Regions from separate parts of the Homo sapiens genome. Here region 1 is linked to region 2. The links are contacts of gene promoters, found by promoter capture Hi-C in human tissues and cell types (Jung and others, 2019). All regions are on one chromosome and are shown on one strand. The core of a region is centred on a gene start or on the middle of the fragment in contact, and the rest is flanking DNA. Distances in the headings are between cores, read along the strand shown. Region 1 overlaps LINC01077 (long intergenic non-protein coding RNA 1077). Region 2 holds the start of PHF11 (PHD finger protein 11).

Evidence for each region. The method cuts DNA at HindIII sites, captures the fragments that hold promoters and counts their contacts. A contact is called where the count stands out against the background at its distance.
Region 1: a fragment that was not itself captured here is called in contact with the fragment with the promoter of PHF11 in region 2 in 1 of the 25 tissues and cell types used here (dorsolateral prefrontal cortex).

Annotation. Positions count from the first base shown.
Region 1 is chr13:48,564,524-48,570,567 of GRCh38, forward strand. It overlaps LINC01077 (long intergenic non-protein coding RNA 1077), which reads right to left. Exons shown (of 2, transcript NR_170270.1): 2 at 3,075-3,824. Among named protein-coding and RNA genes, the nearest start is that of LINC00462, 13 kb to the right of the region's middle. The HindIII fragment of the contact is 3,339 bases long and covers 2,564-5,902 here.
Region 2 is chr13:49,492,027-49,498,197 of GRCh38, forward strand. It overlaps PHF11 (PHD finger protein 11), which reads left to right and starts at 3,927. Exons shown (of 10, transcript NM_001040443.3): 1 at 3,927-4,069. The coding sequence starts at 3,976. The region is part of intron 12 of SETDB2-PHF11 (SETDB2-PHF11 readthrough); the gene reads left to right. It overlaps SETDB2 (SET domain bifurcated histone lysine methyltransferase 2), which reads left to right. Exons shown (of 14, transcript NM_001160308.3): 14 at 1-2,977. RefSeq lists enhancers at 2,733-3,418, 3,729-3,968, 4,459-4,508 and a silencer at 3,989-4,268. The HindIII fragment of the contact is 5,353 bases long and covers 2,158-6,171 here.

The sequences.
Region 1 (6,044 bases), core at 2,983-5,482, 930 kb before region 2:
TCCCTGTTTCCTTTCCTCTTTTGACTGCTGACCTGCTGTATTATAACAGTGATAAGAGACACTTTGAGAGGTTTTACAAATACTGACTCTGCAACTTGGAGTTATCAGTAACTTTGTCCTGTGTCCTTTCTTTAGGCAAGAGAAAATAAAAACAAATGCGCACTGCAGTTTATCTTAGAATTGAGTATTGTGAGGGGAAAAAGGGGCCTAAAAAAGTCACAGATATATTTGACTAGAGGAAGTAGGAATACAGTTTAAGACCAAGACTATGATAGCTCAAACTGTTATGACCACTCAATATTTTCTGCTTTTTAAAATGTAGTTGATACCTGCCTTATGATAATGTAGGTAATTGCTAAGCATGAAATGGTAAGACGATTGTACAGATTTCAGGTGATTGTAACCCAAGATGGTTAGCCAATTTGAACAATATTATTTGTGTATATCAGTGTATCTATTCATGGATGAGTTTGTCTCTCAGGAGACATTTGGCAATTCCTGGAGACATTTTTGGTTGTCACAACTTTGGAAGGTCTGCTGGCATTCAGTGAGTAGAGGTCAGAGGTGCTGCTAATCATCTTTCAATGCACAGGAAAGCCCCCAACGACAGTCACCCAGTCCGACATGTCAATAGTGCTGAAGCTGAGAAACCCTGATGAGCATTATAAGGATAAAATCAATAAACATTTGGTGTGGACAGATGATTTCTGTGGTATGCCTTTTTAGGGGAGGAACAGCTCTGTTCCTAGAGAGTTGGAAGGTTGACCAGATAAATAAGGCCTCCCATACGCCAAGCCTGGGGTCAGGAAACTCCCTGACTGAGATGGAGCTGCTAGGCCATGATTTAAGGTACCCAATCCAATGTGCATGGCCAGAGGCCACCAAACTGCACCTGAGTCGGGTAATTCTTGGATTATTTCACCGATCTTAGGTAGAGTGTAAGAAACTCCTGTAGTCACTAATTCAACCAGAAGGAAGAATTCAGGCTTTTTCTCATATCTGCACACAGAAAAAAGTGGCTCTCCTCAAGTTAGCCAAGGTACAGACCAGAAAACAAGTAGTAGTTGCAATGATGAAACAGTCTGCACACAAGCAACTCGATCAGCCAGAGCAGGGAGTGGGAAACATAGGTATGTGTGAGTGTGTTAGCATGAGTGTGAGTGTGCATGTGCGTGTGCCCCAGATGAGGCATGCTGGTGAGGTCAGTCTTCTGAGGACCACAGATTTAGCCCAGGGACAACATGAGGCATCAGCCTTTAATTTCTGTAGGCTTCAGGTAACATTCCATCTATTAGGCTATATTTCACAGGTATGCTTGCAACTGGGAACGTGAGAAATGTATTCTTGAAATTTCATGTGGCTCATCTGACTTTGCCACATCAAATCAAAATGTCCTTCATCTCAGAGGTACTGCAGGTGGATTCTCCAGATTTCGGAGGAGGTACTAGAGAGTGATAATCTCATCAAAGATATTCCTGCCTTTTGTGTCCTAGGGTCTGTGACACACAGGCCCTTAGTTATTATGAGGCCTGTAAGTCTTCTGTGGGGAGTGCGTTAGGGGATGATGGAGAGAAACTTTATATGTTTAATTCAATTGTACTCGTTATTAAAGCTTATTCAATATATTTACAATACAATATAAAACTTTAGGTGATGTCTGAATCAAACATCTATTAAACAAATTGCAATATGTTTGGAACTTCATTCTAATTTTCCCATTAATTACCTAAATTCATTTATAAACTTCATACACCACCACTTATAGTTTTTAGTTCTGTAATATACACGTACATATATGAGTACAGTGTATATTCTTTGCTTTTAGGAAATCCAGTATAGGAAAATCTAAAGTTGGAAAACAGATAACCCTCAAGGTGATTATTTATATGATCAAATAATTGGTTACTTTCCAAAAGTCCCTTTCAATGAAAAAAAAAAAAAACAATAAAAAACTAAATCAAATCCATAAATATAAACTAAGTACCTAATCTTATGAGCAAGAAAGAGGAGAATGAATATACAAAGAAGACCAAGATTAATTTGGGGTATTTAAGACTTTATAGGCTGGGCACGGTGGCTCAGCCTGTAATCCCAGCACTTTGGGAGGCCAAGGTGGGCGGATCACCTGAGGTTGGGAGATCGAGACCATCCTGGCTAACATGGCAAAACCCCATCTCTACTAAAAATGCAAAAAATTAGCCAGGTGTGGTGGCGGCACATGCCTGTAATCCCAACTACTCAGGAGGCCGAGGCAGGAGAATCGCTTGAACCCGGCAGGCAGAGGTTGCCGTGAGCCGAGATCACGCCATTGCACTCCAACCTTGGCAACAAGAGCAAAACTCTTAAAAAAAAAAAAAAAAGAAAAGAAAACTTTGTATGGTTTAAGTGGCTTCAAAAGCATCATTTACATAACATTAACCACATGACTGGTGGGTAGAGTTGTTTCTGTCCATTAGATTCCTTCCTCAGGGAGCCACTTATCCCTGTTTGGGCCTGCAAGATCTTATGTCTTTTTTTTACGTAAACCTATAGGTCTTTGAATGTTTTTCTACTTTCTGGTACAGAACAGGCTTACCTTGTACTTTCTCTCTCCTAGCCCTGAACCTATTCAGTTTCTCCAAGATGCCCAGTGCAATGATATTTAGAAACCAAAATCTGGGTATCAGATGTGTCCATTGCTACTGAGATATTACTGCTTCTTGGCCCCTTTAGTAGAGATAGTTAGAATACATATTTATTTAAATTGTGACTGAATCTTACTGAATCCCCTGTTCCCAATTCAAAACCAAAGAGTTTTTCCTTTAATGGAAAGGCGTTCTACATTCTTTAACTCAAATCAGTGATCCCTAGTCAGGAGTGGTTCTTGACTCATGTTCAAGTTTGTAATCATTTATTTCTTATTTTGCTCCTAAAGTGACCCAGTAAGGGAAAGCTGATGTGAAGCCTGATTAGCTTTTACCGTGATCCCTTTTCCTAAGGAGCTTTCAACAGTTTCCATTCATTTTGCCTGACTCAGAAGGTACAATCTCTTATTTCTTTTAGTACCTTAAAAAACAAACAAACAAAAACACCACTTTCCAAAATCCTGTGTATTTCACATATGTCTAAGGTTTTGAGGACAACCCAACCTATACAGCTTTCTCCAAGGATTGTAGAGGAGAGGGAACAGAGCAGAGAGGGGATGACTGCCTCGTGATCTTGTACAGTCCACTGCTTACTGTTTGAAGTCTTGAGACTAGGAGACTCATATTTCTGCTACCAGATAATTAAGATACAGCATCTTAATTATCCTTCTATCATCATGCAGATCAATGGTGTGCCATGTAAAATTTTTCTGAACTTAGCATTTTCACTGCTTCCAAAGGGCTGCACTATTTCATAAAAAGAAAACTGTGTTTCATAACAAAACGTTGCATAATTAAAGTGACTGTAACAATGACAAAAATGTGAATTTCCTCCTTCTCTTTCCTTTCTTTGAAGTCAAATGGGGAACCAAAATGGAATGTAAACGGAAGCTTTTTTGTCTTCCTTCTATCAAGCTTTGTTTGAGGTTCCAAATTCAATACACAGCTAGCACTGAGGAGGGTGTAGCAAATTTTCCAGCAGTTGCAGCCAGGATTAACTGTACTGCCTTCTTTGCCAAATCCATTCGTAAGACAAAACTGAAACAGGTCCTGAAGCTTTGTCATCTTTGAAATTGAGGCCCAACACACGGTGCAGAAAGTGCTGGACTTGAGAAAATCTGGGTTTGGGGCCAGTTTTTCCGCTTTAGTGCCAAGTGTCCTTGGGCAAAGCATTGGTTCCCTTTGAGGCTGTTTCCTTCCCTGTAAAACAAAAATAAAAGTCATGTTCTTGCTTACCTCATAAGGGCGTTTGAGGCTCAAATTAAATGTGATAATGTCAAAGAGCTTTGCAAACTCTAAAGAACTATGAATATAAAGTGTTATTAGAAGCTGTTGAAAGTAAATAATGGGGCAGCTTAATTCAAGTAATTTCAAATGCCTCAGGGTACAAAGAGCTGTGTGAGAGTCTTAGATATTTGCACTGCCCTGTGGTAATAAGAGAAGAGAGGGCGGGCTGAGGTGGGGAAGGTAGCATGACTCCTCTTTCCCGGTAAAGGTGGGCTGGGGTTGGAGAGAGAGATATTGAAGTTGGGGAAGGCAGGAGACGTCACAGCAGTTTGTAGAATGCAATTATGATGATGAGATGGGATTTAGCTAACAGGAGAGAGAAGGATGGTAGGAACGGCCAAATGTGCTTCAGAAATAGCAGAAGTAGGGCAAAAGATGTGGCTCAGAAATAGCAATAAATACATAAATAAATAAATCAGAAATGAAGGCCAATAAATGTCGGAGGAGGAGGTTACACATATAGGGAGATCCTGGGGGGAAAGGAGTTTCCAGGCTTAGTGACAAAGGAGCCTGAAATGAGGATCCCAGGGTGTCAGCAGTTGATGTCCTGAGCCAGCAGTCTCCAGACACTCATTTGCATTTATGAGTGCCTACTATGTGCCAGGCACTAGAAAGAAGGCTCTGTTTTCAAACAAAATCTTACAAGAACCCCAATATGTAAAACAGAAAAATTTGACGCTGCTCTGTTGAAGCAAGGCCTGGGGGACTCAGAGACATTCAGCTTTCCTCCGGATCCATTGGTAGCTCACAAAACATCTCTGCAGGGAGTGAGGCCTCTACTGAGAGACAGAGATAGTACCACTCAACCATGTTAACTCCAGCGCCTAGGACATGATAAGCGTTCAATATTTCCTGCATGAATGAGTGCATGTACGCATGAATGAATGCACAAAATAGAGTGGGTGGTCTGTAGGAAAGAATTCAGATAAATGGGTGCAGTGGATTCCATAACTGCATAGTGAGGCTATAACTTAGCAACCATGAATAGTTAATACATAAAGGTTTCTCAATCTTCAGACATGGAATGGTGGGTGGGTCACCAAGACTGGCTTGCCAGAGGCCGAGGGAGACACATTCGTGTGTGTCCAGCCACAGCAGCCAAAGTTAGAGAGCGTAAGACAAGACAGAACAAGAGAAAGCTTCTACTGACAATGTCTTGGTCACTTCATTGCAAAAACAAAGCTAGTCCAGTGCTCTGCTCCTGTGTGGTGGGGCAGGCTGTCTTCAGAATCACAGAACACAAGAAAAACAGCTGACATTTATCATGTGCTACTTGCCAGGCACAGAAGCAGTCCTTTTATGTGTGGTGGGTAGAACAATGGCCCCCTAGAGACCTCTATACCCCAATCCCTGTAGTCTATAAATATTCTATGTTACGAGGCAATGGAGAAACTAAGATTGCTAACCAGCTGACTGTGAGGTGGGAAGAGTGTCCTGGATTATCCAGGTGGGCCCCATGTCATCACAGCATCCTTGCAGGTAACAGTGGCAGGCAGGCAAGTCACAGAAGGAGCTGAAAGGACAGGAGCACATGTTGGAGTGATGTGATGTGATGTGATTTGAGAACTTGACTGGTCACTGCAGTTTTTGAGATGGAAGAGGGCCACAGGCCAAAGCAATGCAGGCAGCCTCCAGGAGCTAGAAAAGCAAGGAAATAGATTCTCCCCTAGACCCTCCTGGCCCTGCTGATACCTTGATCTTAGCCCAGCAAAACCCAGTTCAGACTTCTGACCTCCAGAACTGGAAGATTAAAAAATTTGTGTTGTTTTTAGCTACTACATTTATAGTAATTTTTTTTACAGCAGCCATTGGAAATGAATACAGATGTTCTCACTCCACCTTCATGTGACAGCCCTAACAGTTGGGTACTTACTGTTGGTATCTTGCAGATGAGTAGAATGAGGCATAGAGAGTTTGGGTCACTTGACCTAGTGGTGCAACAGGCGGCCAGACTCCACAGCCTGCTCTGTTTATCACACTGTCCCCTGGAGTGGCTTTACTTCCTCCTCCCCACAAATGAGAAAATGAGGCCCGAGAGATGTGTTCTGACCTGTCCCAGGTCACATGCAAGTTTGAGGAGACAAAGCTCAAACTATGCCCCAGGAGAATGATATAGACCAGTGCTTCACATAC
Region 2 (6,171 bases), core at 2,677-5,176:
TTTCATACACATAGGGTATCTTGTTCACTGCTGTGCTACTTTACATGAGTAGGATGGAAGTGTATATTTTATATGAAATACCACTGTACAATTTATAATTTATTTACAAATTATATATTAAGAGAAACAAATGTCATAACAGAACTCAGCTGTTTCTAATTGCTTTTGTGACTGTTACCTTTTAGTTCATGCCCCCCCAAAGAGCTAAATTTCACATTTTTACCTACAAAATTGATTTTTAATTCCTGGCAAATAATTTACCATTATGAGCTACAAGGTGGGCAACAGCGCCTGAGGATCTAATTTTATGCATATTACTCCCAAGTATTTTAACACTTGTTGGAGAAGCAATATCTGGATCGATAAAACACTGTCCCATCAACCATTTGAGTGGGGAGAGGGAGAAGCTCTTCTGTAAGTAAGATTCTGGCAAGCTCTTTGAAATGAGTCTTCTTTCCCACAGATTTTCTCTACTCTTTCTATACAAACAGATAGGAGAAGAGGGAATAGAAACCTGGAGGAACTTGAATATTTTTGTTCTAGATAGAGATACAGTTACTGAAAAGGAAACCTAGAAAGTAGTCACACGTTGCTTATTTAGGCCAGAAGTAATTGTACTGGGCAAAAATTTCACTTAAAAAACACAAGAAGTCCAGGTATGGTGGCTCAGACCTGTAATCCCAGCACTTTGAGAGGCCGAGGCAGGTGGATTACTTGAGCCTAGGGGTTCAAGACCAGCTTGGGCAACATGTCAAAACCCTGTCTCTACAAAAAATACAAAAATTAGCCTGGCATGATGGCATGTGCCCGTAGTCTCAGCTACTCAGGAGTGAGGTGGGAGGATCATTTGAGCTCAGAAGGTCAAGGCTGCAATGAGACATAATTTCACCATAGTACTTCCAGCCTGGGCAATAGAGCAAGACTCTCTCTCAAAAAAAACAGCACACACACACACACACGAAAACAATTCTGAACTATGAAATCTGAAACAGCCCCTTGGTATCTCCTGGGCATGATTTGCAAATCTTTTTTTTTTACAGAAAAAAGGCAAAGAGTAAGCACTTTGCCATAGGTTACTTGGCCGTGATCATCTATCTAGTGGAAAAGGGGACTGGGAAGCCCAAGCAGACTGGGAAACCAGACAGCTAGGAAAAGGAGCAAAACATAGCCCAGCAACCTACAGATGAAGAAAGTTGAGAAATCCATTTATTCACCATAGAGACGCAGGAATTTCAGGCAATGCACTAAAATGAAATGGGGGAAAAAAGCTTGATCAGTATGGGAACCATTTTTGTGCAAAAGGGAATATTATGGATCAGCCAGTATTTCTTTGAGCTCTGCCTGTGGAGTCCATTTGACCTTTAGAAATATGAGGTATTCTGTCAGTTTTATCTTCTTGGAGAAATTTCTCCTAAAATCTTGATTTGCTTTAGTCTGGACTGGTTCATAGCCATCATCTTCCATCAGTACCCCAGAGATTCACTTTGTCTCTTATGTGGGATCTGTTTCCAGTTAGATGCCATTATTTTCCTTTTCCTTGGTTTACTCTTCCACATATTGGTAAAGCTCTTCCAATAGCTTTTGGAAAGGAAAAATGAAAAGTAAATGTTTTGAATCTCTGTGTGTTTGACAATGTCTTTATTTTACCCTTATACCTGATTGCTGTTTTGGTTGGCAAGGTATAGGATTCTTTAGTGGTCTCCATGCCCAGTTTTGAAGACATCTGCTAGCTTTCAGTGCTGTTGCTGTGGAGTCTGAAAATCTGTCTTCTGGCTTCCAGGGTGACTACTGGAAATTGAATGCCATTCTGTTCCTTCTCTTTTGCATATATAATCCATTTTTATCTCTCTTGAAGCTTATAGGTTTATCTTTGTCTCAATGTTCTGTCCCTGTTAAGAGTCCATTTTCATCCTTTGTACTAGGTGCCTGGTGGGATCATTCCGTCTGAAACTAATGATTTCCCATCTCTTCACTGTTTCTGGAATTCCTGTTTTCCAGATGTTAGACCTCCAGAATTTGATCTCTAATTTTCCTATCTTTTCTCTTAACTTTCAGCTCTGTCTTCTTGCTAGGACCTTTTCCTAGGAGCATTTCTCAATTTAATCTTCCAGTTCATCTGTTGCATTTTATTTTTCTAGTCTCATATTGTCTCATATTTTTAATTTCTAAGAGCTCCCCTTCTCCGAATATTCTTTTTTTTTAATAGCATCCTATTTTGGCTCATGGTTGCAGTATTTTATCTCCTTGAAGATGTTTGTGTGTTTATGTATGTATATGCACACACGTATACATACACATACAGGCATGCATCTCTGTATTCTTTCGGCATAATCTGTGTCCTCCAGGGTTTGTTTCTTTGTTTCCCCTGTATGTTTGTTTTGGTCGTTCACATTATAGGCTTTCCTCAGAGTTAATGGTCTTGGTAGTCTACTCATATTTAAGTGTGGAACACCAAAAAGCTTACTATAAGCTGAGAGTGTGGTAAAGGGCTCTTTGTTTTACTATGACCTACCTGAGCTATCTTGCTGGGGAACACCCTAATGTCAGTCTCTTTATAAAGGGCCTTTCATTTTGGCCTGGCAAGAAATACTCTTTCATCCTCCTGCATGGAGGGCAAAAAAAAATTTAAAAATTGGCTGCTAGGGTCTGTCTGCTCACTTCCCTGTTTTGCAGACCCCACACTCTTCTGCAATTCATTTCATAGTTGTCAAGACTATACAAATTGTCCTTTTTAATGTTCTCTCTTCTGCTATCCCTAGTTGGCAGTCTTCCTCTTTACAACCTGCTGAAAGTGGAAGACCTCCAGTTTTCCTTTAATTCCTCAGCAAACCACCAACTATTATATGTCTTTTTTCCAGAACAACTTATTTTTTAACTATAATTATATGCATTTATGTTAGATTCACTGAAAACCTCATCTTGTATGGTGCTCTGTACCCTATGGGTGCTAAATAAAGGCTTGCTACTGGCAACTGGATTTAGGATCGGCTAATTCTGCGTCCTTTTAAGATATGCTTATTTAAGCCAAACTCGGTATGATAATTTTTTTTTTTTTTTTTTTTTTTTTGAGAGGGAGTCTGGCTCTGTCGCCTAGGCAGGAGTGCAGTGGCGCGATCTTGGCTCACTGCAACCCCCGCCTCCCGGGTTCAAGCGATTCTCCTGCCTCAGACTCCCGAGTAGCTGGGATTACAGGCGCCCGCCACCAAGCCCGGCTAATTTTTGTATTTTTAGTAGAGACGGGGTTTCACCATGTTGACCAGGCTGGTCTCGAACTCCTGACCTCGTGATTCGCCCACCTCGGCCTCCCAAAGTCCTGGAACTACAGGCGTGAGCCACCGCGCCCACCCGGCCAGTATGATAGTTTTTAGGAGGAACCCTCAGGAGAGTGATTGTTTCTCCCGCTGTGTTGTGGGGGGTGGAGTAGGGAAGCCTGGCGTTTGGGGTTTTTTTGTTTGTTTGTTTTTTGTGTGTGTTTGTTTGTTTGTTTGTTTTGAGACGGAGTCCCGCTCTGTAGCCCAGGCTGGAGTGTAGTGGCGCGATCTCGGCTCACTGCAAGCCCCGCCTCCCGATTCAAGCGATTCTCATGCCTCAGTGTCTGGAGTAGCTGGGATTACAGGCACCCGCCACCATGCCCAGCTAATTTTTGTATTTTTAGTAGAGACGGGGTTTCACCATGTTGGTTAGGCTGGTGTTGAACTCCTGACCTCGTGATCCGCCCTCCTCGGCCTCCCAAAGTGCTGGGATTACAGGCGTGAGCCACTGCTCCCGGCGTTTGGGTTTTTTAAGCTATTCAAATTAAGACTAGACTGGAATCTGGAGCAGTGTGTGTGACAACCCCTCTCTGCACACCCAACTTTCCCCGGGCCGGCTAGTGACTCAAAGCGACAGCCCAGATTTAAGAAAACGAAACCTAGTGCAGCTGGGGCACTTCCGGGATCTCGCTATCCGGCCGCCACCCGCAGCTGCAGCACAGTCATGGCCCAGGCGTCGCCGCCCCGGCCCGAGAGGGTGCTCGGCGCCAGCAGCCCGGAGGCCCGGCCCGCGCAGGAGGCGCTCCTCCTTCCCACCGGTGTGTACCGCGGGGGCGGGCGGGCGGGCGGGCGGGGCTGGGCAGCGACGGGCCCGGTCAAGGGGCCTGCCTTCCGGTCGTGGCCGCATGGGGGCCCGACCTGCCCCTACTCCGGGCCGGGGCCCTAGACGCCGGGGCGGCGCTGGACGAACTTGGCTCACCACTCGCGTGCCTGTTGGTGGGGGAGGGGGCCAGAGGACAGGGCGCGGCCCAGGCCAGTTCCACAGGTGGCTCTGACTGCCCATGGTTTCGCGCGAGTGGTGGGCACGCTTCGGTTTACCTCCCCCGCGGGTGACAGCCCAGTGCTTCCACCACAACCGATGTCAACTCTCCTAGCGCCCCTCCGCTCACCGGTAAACCAGGACAGTGGAGGGGCGCCCTGATGCGGTGAGGCAGGGGGCGGCCCTGAGGGAAGAGCTGGGTCTCACGTTCACGGAGGACGTGACTGGAACCCGTCTCCCCTTCTCCAGTCGTTCCAGTCCTCCCCGGCCCTCTACTTGAGTGGGTGGGTCTTCTGATGGGTTCCTGCCCTTGCGTGTGTGTATAGCTCCAAACGGTGTGCCAGGCTCAGGGCAAGGTCCTGAGCATACAAAGATGAGTTAGGCAGACCCTGCCCTAGAGACTCTACTAGGCAACTTTAATGAGGAGGTCAGAACCACAGAGGTACAGATGAGAGACTCCTGACTCCCAGTCTTCAGGGAAAGCTTTTTGAGGAGAGGATGGCTGGGCTTACCCTTTTTTTTTTTTTTTTTTTTTGAGAGGAGTTTCACTCTTGTTGCCCAGGCTGGAGTGCAAAGGCGCTATCTCGGCCCACTGCAACCTCTGCCTCCCGGGTTCAAGCGATTCTCCTGCCTCAGCCTCCCGAGTGGATGGGATTACAGGCATGTGCCACCACGCCCAGCTAATTTTGTATTTTTAGTAGAGAGGGTTTCTCCATGTTTCATGGGCTTACCTTTAAAGGGCAAGACTCAGCCAAAGGTGGAAAAGTTGAAGGGGTGTTCCCAGCAGAGAGGATGACACAAAGGCACCAAACCACAAAACGTCACACGTAAACATCATACGTGGCAACCACAAGCCAATCAGTTGGATATTTCATTCATTGGTATACATATGGACTGTAAGGTAAGTCACGGGAGATGCGCTTCCATCCTGACCTCTTCCTCAAACTCCAGACTGGTATAACCAACTTCTTCCATTTCTGAAATGATCTCAAACTGAGTATGTCCCAAAGAGAATTCTTGTTTCCTCCACTGTATTCAGGTACTCCAAACCTGCTCAACCACCAGCCCATTCCATTCGCCCAGGTGCTCCTTGCAAAAACCTTAGTGGCTCCTCAGGGCCTCTCTTTCCTCCGGACACCCCTTCTAATGCATCAGTCGGGCCAGCCAGTTCTGTGTTCAGCCTGACTGTATCTGGAGCCTGACTGCTTCTCACCACTTCCATTACTGCCACCCAAGCCTACGCCATCATGATCTTCTGTCTGGACTATTGCTTTCCTGGCTTCTATTCTAGCCTTTAATACAGGCAGGCCTGCAGAGCGGCCAAAATGCTTTTTGAAAAACAAAAAGCAAATGTGATTCTCCTACTCAAAACCCACCAATAGTCTCCCATGACTCTCAGAACAATCTATGAGCCTGGCCTGCAGTTTACCCCATGTCCTTATCTGATTTGACTCCTGCCCATCTTAATGACTCTGCTACCCTGCTACCTTGTAGGTCCTCTAAGCCACCAAAGCTGTCCCTGCCTCAGGATCTTTCCATTTGCTATTCTCTGCAAGGAAAACTCATTGCCACATTATCCCATTTTCAGTTCCCCATCATATTCAGGTGTCTGCTCATATACATCTTCCCTCAACCTTGCCTGCCCATCCTGTCTAAAAGAGCACCCCTTGCCCCTGCTCCTGTCACTCTCTACCTCCTTCTGCTCTATTCTTTCTCTATAGTACTTATCACTACCTGGAAAACAAAACAAAACTTGTTTAATGCCTGTCTCTACCACTGGCCACTGGCATGTAAATTCGTCTTACTCTCTTCTATCCTTAGTGCCTAGACTGGTTGGCCTAGTAGTAGTAGTAGGACATAGTAGGTACTCATTAAATATTA